Regions from separate parts of the Homo sapiens genome. Here region 2 is linked to region 1. Evidence: promoter capture Hi-C in 16 types of primary human blood cells and fetal thymus (Javierre and others, 2016). All regions are on one chromosome and are shown on one strand. The core of a region is centred on a gene start or on the middle of the fragment in contact, and the rest is flanking DNA. Distances in the headings are between cores, read along the strand shown.

The links. The method cuts DNA at HindIII sites, captures the fragments that hold promoters and counts their contacts. A CHiCAGO score of 5 or more calls a contact.
Region 2: a fragment that was not itself captured here is called in contact with the fragment with the promoter of CD96 in region 1 in 1 of 17 cell types (naive B cells); the score reaches 11.7 in naive B cells.

What each region holds. Positions count from the first base shown.
Region 1 is chr3:111,538,935-111,545,444 of GRCh38, forward strand. It overlaps CD96 (CD96 molecule), which reads left to right and starts at 3,263. Exons shown (of 14, transcript NM_005816.5): 1 at 3,263-3,375; 2 at 6,112-6,468. The coding sequence starts at 3,315. It overlaps LOC105374039 (a long non-coding RNA gene), which reads left to right. Exons shown (of 3, transcript XR_001740846.1): 3 at 3,001-3,069. The HindIII fragment of the contact is 7,700 bases long and covers 1-4,791 here.
Region 2 is chr3:109,043,513-109,050,022 of GRCh38, forward strand. All of the region lies in intron 14 of MORC1 (MORC family CW-type zinc finger 1), which reads right to left. Among named protein-coding and RNA genes, the nearest start is that of MORC1-AS1, 55 kb to the right of the region's middle. The HindIII fragment of the contact is 2,637 bases long and covers 1,576-4,212 here.

The DNA of each region.
Region 1 (6,510 bases), core at 2,013-4,512:
TGGCCTTGAACTTCAACACTGTCAAGTGTTGGCTCTTCCTGTTTCTTCTGCCTGGAATGACTTAGCTTGCGGTTTCTACCAGTCTGACGCCTATAGGGCCAAGTTTAGATTCCATACTTCATATGCTCTTGGCCCACTCTACCCCTAAGATAACTCCCCCTTTGCTAAAATCCTGCCCTACCTTCTCATTTGGGCTGTGCTTTATGCTGCTTGACTTTTTTGGTGCACATGGATGCTTCCTCCCAGCTAAATGGTAACTGCCTTAAAACTGAGGGTTGTGTTTTATCTTTGGTATTTTAAAATTATCTAGAACTATGCCTCTTCAGTAATCTCTTAAGAATTGACATACAGCAAGTATTTTTTAATTAACTGAAACCTTAACCATCATGTTTTCTAAGCATTTTGGAAAACATGCAAAAGTATAGCACTCCCATTTTTATTTTTAGTAAGTGTTTAAAGATAAGTAAGTAATATTTGAGTTAACCATTATGAAAACCACAAAAGTAAGTTTACCTTTTGCTCAACTTCCTGTTTCTGAAAATGTCCTTTTCTCACTGAGTGTGTTTAGCTAGAGCATTTAAAAAGTTTGTCCAAAACACACAATCATGGCTTGCCTTTAGCAGAAATAATGTGTGTTCCTGCTTCTCTTTGTAAATAATTGAATTTGCCTCTGCAGTTCAAGAAGATCACGATTTCTTTTTGTGTGTGAAACTGACTTGCTTCTGTTTTCTCCTTATGTGCAGCAGACTATAAGGCAGAAGAAACCCTGTGCAATCGGGATATGGTGGGTAGGGAGGATAATAGAAGAGATTGACATGACTTCCATAGAAGAGTTATTTTTAAGTATAGAGAACGCCTGTCTATCCCCATGCTGAAAGAGCCTTTAGAAAATATTACCAGGATTGAAAGGCGGTGGGGGCAATTCCCATCACCTGGGATAGCCGTGCCAGTCTGCGGAGTGTTGCTGCCACCTGCTGCATGCAAACAGCCATGGAGGGGCTGTTGCCTGGGTCTTGCAGCTGCAGGACACCCGAAGTGTAAGCGTTCAGTTAATATTCTGTGGCCATGCATCTGAAATTGTTATACTTTCAGAACCTGTGTGGATCCCAAAGAAAAATTAATCAAATCTGATGGCTTCAGGCCATAGAAGTTTCTAGATATAAGAATCATTAACTAAGCCCTGAACAATACACAGAAGACAGATTTGCCGTATAGCCACTAAATGCATGGCTCAGGTAGCCCAACCCCAATGAGAGGCAAGAATTCTACTGAAAGTAAGTCTGTAGCACTGGAAAATAAACGACCATTTCCATGTTTCTGAGTTTACAGACTTTTTTGGAACAACTGTTTCACTTTAATACAATAAAAGATAGGAGAAGTCTAAATACCCCAAAGAGGGTATTGTTCTTAGAGAATTCAATAAATGTATATTTGAATTGGTTTCTACTTAGGTAAATTCCTCTTAATATGAAAAATGGAACGAGATCATAGAATCCCTTCTCCAGGCTTGTAATGTGTCCTGATTTAATAGGGACACCAACGTGCAAATCAGGATCTTCATAGTGCATCTCCAGGACTATTTTTGCTGCTATGCTTCATAAAACTTTGATTTACTAGAATTTCCAGGGGCAATGGGAAGAGATGAAGCTACCCAGAGCAGTTATGTCTCTTCCTGACCTTCTATAAAGGACTTTGAGTTCCCAGGCCTTCCCTGGAAAATCACTGTCAGTACTACCTGACCCAATATCCCCAGTGACCTGAAACTCATGGGAAGTTGGGAAGGGGTGATAATAAAGGTTTGGGGAGCACTGGACTAGGCAAGCAGTAACTACATCTAAATTCTGCAAGAAATCATTAGCTGAGGAATACTGAATAAGTATGGCAATTATCATGGCAAGTATTTGCAGTGGTGGTATAGGGGGTGATCTGGACGTCCAGGAAGACAGTCGCCCTTGTTTATTTACATGAAAACCTCTCTTCTCCCATCTAAATTTAATCTCCTGAATGGCAAAAGCATTTCCTTCTGTCTTAGCATCGTCCATATTCACCACGAGTCCTTGCATAGGAGAGATTGGTGTATACATGATGACAACCTGACGAAAATTATCTCCACCTCACCTGAAAAGAATTCCCATCTCAGGATTACAACTGGCCTTTTCATTTGTCTTTGGTCTTGCTAGGTGGTACGTATATTCTAGTAATGAGATTAGGGTCACAGGATATTTTAATCATTCATACGGTTGTATGAAGACACACATGTTTATTTGTAGTTATTCTTTGTCCATCAAACTTACAGTAGTCCTCAGTCTAATGCTTGTTTTCTTAATGTTGGAGGGTGATGACAGCCTATTTTATCTCAGGCTGAAAAACTAATACAATTAAATCAGAGAATCATAGCAGGGAACAGTCATCGTGTTCTACGAATAGCCAGACATTTTTACCAAGGGGTCACTTTCCTGAAACCTGTTTGCGGTTCTCTGTAAATAGAAGTAACTAGGCAGATGTAATAAGCCTAATAGCTCACTGAGGTGGGAATTCTCTGCCTTTGGATTCTGATTGTTACTGCCTTGCTTTGGCTTAGGCATGGATAAACTCTTCTGTGGTGAACAAAAATGGCCTCCAGCCAACCTGGTGGGAGACTTCCCTATCTGACCTCCAACCTTCCCTCGTCTTCCCAGACGAGGGGTAGAAAAGTAGCCCTCACTCCTCCACTCCCAGGAAATGTGCATTTCCCTGCAAGAGGAGAGACAATAAAATTTGGTTTGATAGCTGACACTATTCCCTGTTACTTTTCAGATTTTATTAAAATTAAATGTGTTAATTCTTTGTTCTTTCACCCCAGGGCAATTCTGGAAAGAAAACATATCTTAAGATTGAACAGAAAAACTATTATGAAAAACACCAAGCTCACATTTGTTAAATGACTTTGTGCTCTTGAAAAAAATGTATAAAAAGCACATTGCCAACTGCTCTGCGTGATATCCTTTGTTTGGATTTTAGACGCAGCTTGACTGACACAGAGATCCTGAATAAGAGACTCTTTGGATACTGAAAAGTCTCTTAAATAAGGTGATACACAAATTTCAGAGAACAATTTCAACATTGTTCTGTCGAACGTTATACTCAGTCCTGAACCACATTACTTTCCTGTCTACGTTTCATTTCCTGGGGGCTTGCCAAGTGATAAACAGACCCAGGCGTGTGTGGTAGAGTTCGGGTTTTTTAGCACGAAGTGGGTGGCTGGAGTTTGCTTGAAAACATCAATTGACTTTGTGATCATTACAGAAATGCTGGTGTAAGGTGTTCAGAAGACAATGGAGAAAAAATGGAAATACTGTGCTGTCTATTACATCATCCAGATACATTTTGTCAAGGGTAAGACTTCCAGTTGTCCCTTCTTGTCGGATGGGCCGCTTTAGGGGCGGATGGGGCCTCTGTTCATTTAAAATGCCTTGTGACTGCTGCTGAAATTGATCACCAAAGGACAAATCATTACTAAGGGTTTCAGTTATGTATTTAAGCGGCAGGTATAAGAGAGATGCTAGAATCTAGAAATGATTACTAATGAACACTAAAAATAAGAAGGGAATGGGTCATTTGTGCCACTGCTCTGAGGCATTTTCACCCATTTCCTTTCTAACAGGATCTCTGGAGTAATTGGCAAATTGTGTTTCTTGGAAATGAAATGCTCTCCAAATGGTAGCCAAAACAACTGCGGAAAAATTAAAAATTACAAAGCCATCAACGCTCAGAGATCCTTGTTTAACTTTTTTCTCTCTCAAGTACTCTCTTTCTTTTGGATATAACAAGTATTTCTCATCCAAATACTAAGGTCTTTGGGAGTTGAAAACACGTTGAATTTTAATGAGGCATGTGTAGGTATGAACCTGGGAGACAAAGTGGAATCCTTATGACAGTGGGAACGAGAGCCTAATGGGCCTATTTAAAAAGAGAAGGAAGCAAGATTAGTTCTGTATTCCACAGTATGAGAGTATCATAGTAAGCCTGAGTGTCTTAAGAATTAACTGTGCTTTTCAGACATAGCTATGAAAATATTAAGGAGAATTTCTAAATCAAAAGAGATTTGGAATATAATGCTGTAGATAGGATCAGAGCCATATTTTCAGGCAAAGGATAGCTCACAGGAAGTTACATTAAACTGTACTAACCTCTGCCTACCAAACTTTTGCATCCACAGAAGTATGATAATTCCCATTTGTCAAGTACTTTTACTTTTAAGAGGCTTGTTTCTTCTCAGTTGCTTGTCATCTTTTTATCTTTTCCTTTTGTGAGCTTCAGTGGTACTTGTCACAATAATATATATCATTTCTGTAACAGGATTCCATGTTAATTCTAAAACTGAGGCCAACACTATTGAAGGCATGTCACAGTCTCAATGCTTAACACATTTTAAGTGTCCTGTATCACTCAGTCAGACTGCTGATGGGAAAGAGACTCTACTTATGTCTAGTATTTCAGACCATCGATTAGAGGTGATACTAAGTGGAACCTCTACCTAAGGTTAGATGAGGTCCTTTCAATCCTTGTATATTGAAAGTGAAATTTCTTACTCTAATCAACTAGACTGAATTTGGGAGACAGTTTGGAAGTTATGTGGAAGGAAAATAAAATAAAATAAGTAATAATAAAGTTTAAAATAATAAGCATAACATAGGTAATAGTTAACATTAAGTATAGGTTACTTAGAAGTTATATGTAGGCTAAGAAATTTAAGTAGCCCCTCCCAGCATTGCTAACAAGTTGCAGCTGTGAGCTTATCTCAACCTTCCAAGCTTCTTGCCTGCCCCCAGACCCCCACATATTTCTGTAACTCCTGTTTTACCTTACCCCATCTCTGTCTAGCTTCAAGATTGACTGGTTAAGATAACTAAATTGTAAGTTTTCTCAGAATTGTCACGGGTTAAATAATTTACTGTCTTTGCCTGAAACCTGTATCCTGCCTTGTTTTCCCACCTCAAACGACATATAAGCAAGCCTGCTTTCTTTGTCAGAGTCAGCAGCCATTTTGGGCATGAGTCTGCTGTGGGCCTGGATGCCTGAATTAAATAAAGTTCTCTTTGGTCTCTAAAGGTCTCTTTGTCTTCCTTGGCTGGAGTTTTACTGTTATACTTATGAGGGTTATAGAAAGACCACAGACTCTGGGCAACTGAATTCATTCTTTTACTGGAGGTGTGACTTTTTTTGTTTTGTTTCGTTTTTCGTTTTTTTGAGATGGAGTCTCACTCTGTTGCCAGGCTGGAGTGCAGTGGCATGATTTCGGCTCACTGTAATCTCCGCCTCCCAGGTTCAAGCGATTCTCCTGCTTCAGCCTCCCAAGTAGCTGGGACTACAGGCGTGCACCACCACGCCCAGCTAATTTTTGTATTTTTAGTAGAGACGGGGTTTTGCCGTGTTGGCCAGGATGGTCTGGTTCTCTTGACCTCATGATCTGCCCACCTCAGCCTCCCAAAGTGCTGGGATTACAGGCGTGAGCCACTGCGCCAGGCCTGGAGGTGTGACTTTGAGCATACTGTTTCATCTCTCTGTGGCCCAGTTTCTTCCTCATAAAAAGGGGTTAACAACATCACCTATGGCGTGTGAGGGGGATTAAACAAGATAAGATATGAAAGGCCCTTGTAAACATGTATTTTTCAAAGAAATTGCTATACACATATCATTTATTTTTGCAGTTTCAGAAAGCATCACGTGTGTATTATATTCAGCTGTCGTTTTATAACCCAAAAAGCCAATTATATTAAACGTAAGAAGAATCGTCATACTAAGTTTGCTGGTGTGCTTCAATTTTCAAATAGGCTTAATTTTATTCACAGGTAGTCTGAAACCTTCAATTATATTTTGGTCAGACCAACACATAGATAAATATTTAGAAGTCAGTAATTACCTCTAGCTTCTCTACGTAAATGCCTCCTCATTTATATTGTCTCATGCATCTCTATCTGAGTGAGACACAAGCTCTACTCTATTCCTAAAGCAGCCAGGGAGAAATTTCCTCAGTTGCTCCCCTCACCTTACTGAAGTGACTAGGGTTTTTAATTAAGCGTCATTCTATGTGAATTATTTAAACTCATGGCTCATGTTCTTTCTTTTCAGGAGTTTGGGAAAAAACAGTCAACACAGAAGAAAATGTTTATGCTACACTTGGCTCTGATGTCAACCTGACCTGCCAAACACAGACAGTAGGCTTCTTCGTGCAGATGCAATGGTCCAAGGTCACCAATAAGATAGACCTGATTGCTGTCTATCATCCCCAATACGGCTTCTACTGTGCCTATGGGAGACCCTGTGAGTCACTTGTGACTTTCACAGAAACTCCTGAGAATGGGTCAAAATGGACTCTGCACTTAAGGAATATGTCTTGTTCAGTCAGTGGAAGGTACGAGTGTATGCTTGTTCTGTATCCAGAGGGCATTCAGACTAAAATCTACAACCTTCTCATTCAGACACACGGTAAGCATAACTGGTAGAGGGATGTGCTTTCATTCAGCTCTC
Region 2 (6,510 bases), core at 1,644-4,143, 2.5 Mb before region 1:
GTCCTTAACATTACTCAACTGTACACTTAAAAGTGGTTAAGATGGTAAATTTCATGTTATATGTATTTCATCATAATGAAAAAAAAAGAAAAAAAACACAAAAGAGCCCTGCAGAAATTTAAGTTTGCTGTTGTCACGTATTTTTCCTCTTTAAAAGTTACTTCTCCATGAGCACTGCACTTTTCCAAAGGAGGAAGTGTGCTTTATAATTCTGCATGTCTTCAACTTGTAGGTCGGCATCCTGCACCTAACAAGCCCTCAACCAACGTTGCTGCTATTCTTGACAAAATGCCTCATTAATATGTTGTCTGAAATAAAATGAAAGTGGAATAATGTCTCTTCCAAAAAACATTAACCAAAATATTTCTATCCACCTATAAAAAGAGCCATGCAGATAACCCCAAATTCATTAACTCCAAAATTATAAATTATTTTAACATCCTCAAGATAGGTCGATTAAAAAATTCAGTTTACTACTACAAAGAGTAGATGGCTGAAAGCACACAGCTAATTTTCAAAATTATAAAAGAGTACATATCTTAAGACTTTTGTATGAAGAACCAATAAGCTCATTAAATTAATAGGATAATCCGGGATTAATGCACACAGAATTAAATTCTCAATTTCTAGAAGAAGTATCTGTGAGAAAAAAACTGAAAGGTTAATTTACTGCCAGCTATGTATGGAATACTTTATTCAGTAGATTCCTAATATTTAAATTAATCTAATGAATTGTTCAGGAGCCTCTTTAAACCAAGCACCTGGGGAAAAAAAAAAGGGAAATACTTGTAATCCCAGCACTTTGGGAGGCTGAGGCGGGCGGATCGCGAGGTCAGGAGATCCAGACCATCCTGGCTAACACAGTGAAACCCCATCTCTACTAAAAATACAAAAAATTAGCCAGGCATGGTGGCGGGCACCTGTAGTCCCAGCTACTTGGGAGGCTGAGGCAGGAGAATGGCGTGAACCCAGGAGGCAGAGCTTGCAGTGAGCCGATATCACGCCACTGCACTCCAGCCTGGGCAACAGAGCGAGACTCCACCTCAAAAAAAAAAAGGAAATACTGCAATAATTTACTGAAAATTTGCCAAAAACCAGTAACTACAAGAGCAGCTGACACATATTTTGCCTCTTAAAAATAAGAGAAATGTGTGGGGCATGGTGGCTCATGCCTGTAATCCCAGCACTTTGGGAAGCTGAGGTGAGCAGCTCATTCAAGGTCAGGAGTTCAAGACCAGCCTGACCAACATGGTGAAACTCTGTCTCTACTAAAACACAAAAAATTAGCCAGGTGTGGTGGCGGGCATCTGTAATCCCAGCTACTTGGGAGGCTTAGGCAGGAGAATTGCTTGAAGCCAGGAGGTGGAGGTTGCAGTGAGCGGAGATCATGCCACTGCACTCCAGCCTAGGCAACAGAGTGAGACTCTGTCTCAAAAAAAAAAAAAAAAGAAAAAGAAATACAACATCCTCTTAGATGTCAGTTTTGTATCTGTTCATAGAACATACAATGACATTCAGGGAATCAGTGAGCCTAGGAGAGACTCAATCAAATTCAATAGTAAACTACCACAGCAAAGCTTTGATGGTCTCCATCAAAATAAGGAGGCCTGAAACAGTTTATAAACTCAAAGCACCAGAAAAATGGTATACCTGGAGAATGTTAAATCAGTTCCCACTTTCAGGTGGTTCTGCATCTAAATAGATGATTATATTCTAAAGATCTCCTGAGATCGAAATTTCATACCTTTTCTCAGGGAACAGTTAAATCACTCTTCCTCCTCTGTTGAATACTGTCCTGTTTGTCATTACCCCTCTCATTTAAAGCTAATGTAACAGCCAGGCATCAGACCCTTCCTAATCTGGTCCAAGGTGGGATCGCTTATCATCTTTGTTCTTAATGAAAGCTCTGGATTAGGGATGACAAACTGGTTTCAATTGATAATGTCAACTCCAATCAGTTGGTAATGATGCCTGGTACACTGTTGAGAAGAACCATGAGGCCAACTGCCGTTTATCAGGAAGAATTGCCATGATGATTTAGTGTGTGGTGCAAGGGTAATTGAGGCCTATTTGCTATCCCTGTTTGTTTTTCACTTCCCAAGGTGGTCTACTTGAAGTGAAAAAAAGCAAGACAAGATATATTCAGTGGTGGTGAAGATGCTACAGTCCTTCTTCCCTTTCTCTTGGCTCCTGGGTATGGTGGCATGCGGTTGTGCTAGTCTCATGTTATGAGTCCAGTCAGTGGCAAAAGTTATGTGGCAGCTGCTGTCAGAACATTTCCACTTCTCCACTCTACTGTAAGCACAGTACGCTCCCCTGCAAAACTCCAGTAGTCTGCAGCTGGCCCAATTCACTCCAAATGTCAGCTTCCTCATTTGACATGGCCATGTAGCATCATTTTCTCTAGTTCCGTATCACTGGTTACCCACCTTCTTAAGTGTGAGGACCTCCGTATGCTGCAAGAAACTTTTAGAACCCCCACCCTCAACCTAAGAAAATATATGATGACAAAAAATAAACAAATTATGAATTTAATAACACTGAGTAATTTTATATTTTACTACCCACAACTACATCTCTATACATATAAAAATCTATAGCATATAGATGTATGAGGCATAACGCCATCTTAGACAATTATTTGTAGACTTAGGAATTCATGGACTCCCTGGTATACTCTGAGATTCCCTAGGGCATTTTGGCTCCCAGTTGGGAACCACATGATGCTGTGCGTGGAGACTAGAAGGGAGAGGGCTACAGGCCTCATTACGGCAAATCTTCAAAAACAACACTGGGGAAAATTATGTTTCTCCTGGTTCTTTCTTCAAGAAGAAATAAATTTGACCTTCTTTTTTTAGGTTATATTTTTATTTAGTCATTGTCACTGCTCTCCTTTGGATATATTCCAGTTTCCCTCTAAAATGTGGAAATCAAAACTAGACATAAAAATCAAGTCCAAAGTGTATTCCTAAGGAATTCTGTGTTATCATGGGCAATAGCCTAGTCAGCTCTGTATGTGTCCCCAATACCTGGGTTAGACTACCTTTCTACTAGAACTCTCCTTACTCAAGATATACATGAAGCCTACTGACTAAACTAATGCTCCTAAAAGCCTAAAGACCCATATTTGATTTTTATTAATACAATGTATGCTTAATTGTCTACATTATTTTATTTTTAATGGATTAGAGGAATATTTTAAAATAAACTTTATTGTGTGTATTTAAAGTATACAACATGTGTTATAGGATACATACAGATAGTAAAAGGGTTACTACAGTGAAATAAATTAATATATCCATTTCACACAGCTACCTATTTTTCTTGTTTTTGTAGCAAGAGCAGCTAAAACCTACTCAGTGTAAGTCCCATATACAGTACTTTTTTTTCTTCAAAGATGCATTGTGAGCTGCTTTATTATAGTGAAATGAACCATTTAGCAAACTGTGAACTTCATAAGCAAGTGTTTAAAACATGATTTTCAAAGACATTCCTTACCATTGTGTTTAAAGCCATAATGGAAAGAGTTTACATGTACACGTTTAAAAGATGAATCTCAGCATATTACTTCAAAGATGCATTGTGAGCTGCTTTATTACAGGGAAGTGAACTGTTTACCAAACCACAAACTCCCATATACAGTACAACTGTATTACCTACAGTCCTCATATTGTACATTAGGTTTCTGATTGCAGTTTTAAATTCAGACTCATTAAATATAACTTACTCTTCTTAAGCAGGCTGATGAGGAGAGTTTTGAGGTCTTCCTTTAGGTATGGCAGGGAAAAATCAAACTATAAGAATCAAATTTTATTGAATTCCAGAAAGAATAAGGGTCCTAAACTTTTTAGTATTTTATTTGCAATACGGCTGAGATCCTCGGAGATATTTTAGCAAAAAACTTCATTGTAGATGTAAAAAATGTCATTATCATGATAATACAGGTACAGTCAGAAAGGAAGCATAAGTGCTTTCAATGGTAGTAATTTCAATTACCAGCTGAAAGCAATGTAAATGAATTAAATCTAAGAATGTGGTTTTTTTTTTCCAACAGTCAATTTGATGAACTCCTGAACCATCTTTTTATTTGCTGGGAGCTGACATGAAGTAATTATTTTAAACAGAGTACATATTTATGTCATGTAAATCAATTAGGCAAAATGTCTATATCATATTTTAATCTTTTAATTGTCTCTTACTCTTTTCACATCAAGCTTTTATCCAAAGCAATTCTTTAGCAGTATAGAGTTCAGTTGCTTCTGTTAAACAGTAAAAATACCAACAAGGGTAACCAAGTAGTAGATGAAAGACAGTTTTTCCTTATAGAAGTATTAGAGCTGATGAAGAAAACATAATAGAATGAGAATATAATTTTTTGAACTCCTAAGGAATCTACGCATTGATCATGACTGCTAATATCATTAAAAGAGAGACAATCAGCCTCACAATGGAAGAACACACTACCACCTATGAAACATCTTGACAAAAAGCCACATCTGAATGGGCAAGCTGCTAGTCTACCAATTTAAATAAAAATGAACACAATGGAAGAACCTGTTGAACTACTCCTAGTAATGCAGTGAGCAAAATCTAGACTGTGTGATAACTATAAGACAACCAATCTGGTTTTCTTACAAATAAACTTAAGGAAGAACAGAGAGGAGGGGAGTGGAAGAGGGAGAGAGTGTGAGACAGCGATAGAGAAAGAACCTTGCAGTTTATGACAGGAGATAATTAGAAATATGAACAACAGACTGGATATTTTATTATATTAAGAAGGTAATAACTTTTAGGTAATGATATTTGTAATGTGGTTTTTAAACAGTACTTACTTTTAGAAATGAATGCTAAAATACTTAGGGATATAATTATACAGGGTCTGAGACTGCCTTCATAATCCAGTTGTGGGGGAATAGTTGGGCTACAGATGAAACCAGTTCACCTACAAGTTGATCACTGAGGCTGGCTGATGGGTTTATAGAGTTTCATTATAATATTCTCTTTAATTCTAATTTTGAAATCTCCCATATGTATTAGTTTGCTAGGGCTGCCGTGAAAAAATACCACAGACTGGGCGGCCTAAACAACAGAAGTTTATTTATTTTCTCACTATTCTGGAGGCTGGAAGCCCAAGATCAAGGTATTGGCAGGCTTGGTTTCTTCTGAGGCTTCCCTACTTTGCTTACAGATGGTCACCTTCTCCCTGTGTCCTCACATGTTTTTTTCTTTGTGTGCACCTATCCCTGGTATGTCTCTTTGTGTATGAATTTCCTCTTCTTATGAGGACACTAGTCAGACTGCATTAGGGCCCACCCAAACGACTCCATTTTAAATTAACTATTTCTTAAAGGCCCTATCTCCAAATACAGCCCGAGCTACTGGGAGCTAGGGCTTCAACTTATGAATTTGAAAGGAATACAATTCAGCCTATAACACCATAATAAATTTAAAAGTAATATAAAATATAATATTGATAATATTTTTAAGTAAAACGGGTACATACATAAAATCTTTAACTTCAAAAACTGAATTAAAAAGATATGAACTGTTTCTCAGACTACATCTGCAAATAAACTTGTCTCATATTCTCACCTTTTAATATTTGCTTCATCACTCGACGTGTATCCTTAGCAAAGCTGTTATATTCATTTTCCTGGTAGTCCCTTTCTGAGATCTTAGAGACTAAATTGCATCATATGGAAAACAAAATTCTGTTGTGAGCAACTAGCTACATCCAGGTACTACAGCATTGTCTATGTTTTAAGGAAAATATTCATGTAACAAATATTATTTCTCACTTTCAAAATTATGCACAAACTGGGTAATTGACAAGGGTTAGGTGATAGCATAATCAGGAAAACATGTCCCAAGGTACCCACTTTTACTCAGTGGAGATCACTGATAGAAGGCCAGGGTCTGATTTTCCTGTCCTATGCAACAGGGTTTACATGAAGTCATAGAGAAAATACTAGCCAGACTTTACGTAAATCTGGGAATATAACACATTAGTTAGAAGTTAGCATTAGATTCCAAAAAAAAGGTCATTACAACCTGAAAGAATGAGGCCTAATAAGGCGATAAACTTTACGAGGGATAAATGTATGATTCTACACTAGGGCTCAAAACCACTTACTGGAAAAAATAAGAAAAGAGAGGTATGGCTTTACAAGAACACATATTAATATTTTTGTTAAAAACTTTAATGGTAAGGGGGACACTGAGGGTCAATAATGTGTTTACGGAGAGTTCACATATTATTAGGTGTACCAATAAGATTCCAACAACTCAAAAGAAAGATGAGGATCCCATTTCAGTCAAGGCTGTTCAGGTTTCATCTGGCACATTTTGTTTCCAGATGATACACTTTAAAATACAATACTAGGACGGTAAATATATTTAATACCATGTCAAATGAAGAATAATTACTATTCTTGAACTTGGAAGTGTTAGTCAAGATTAAACAAAGACTGAAGAGAGACATAATCTTGTCTTCAAATACCTGGGGGGGCT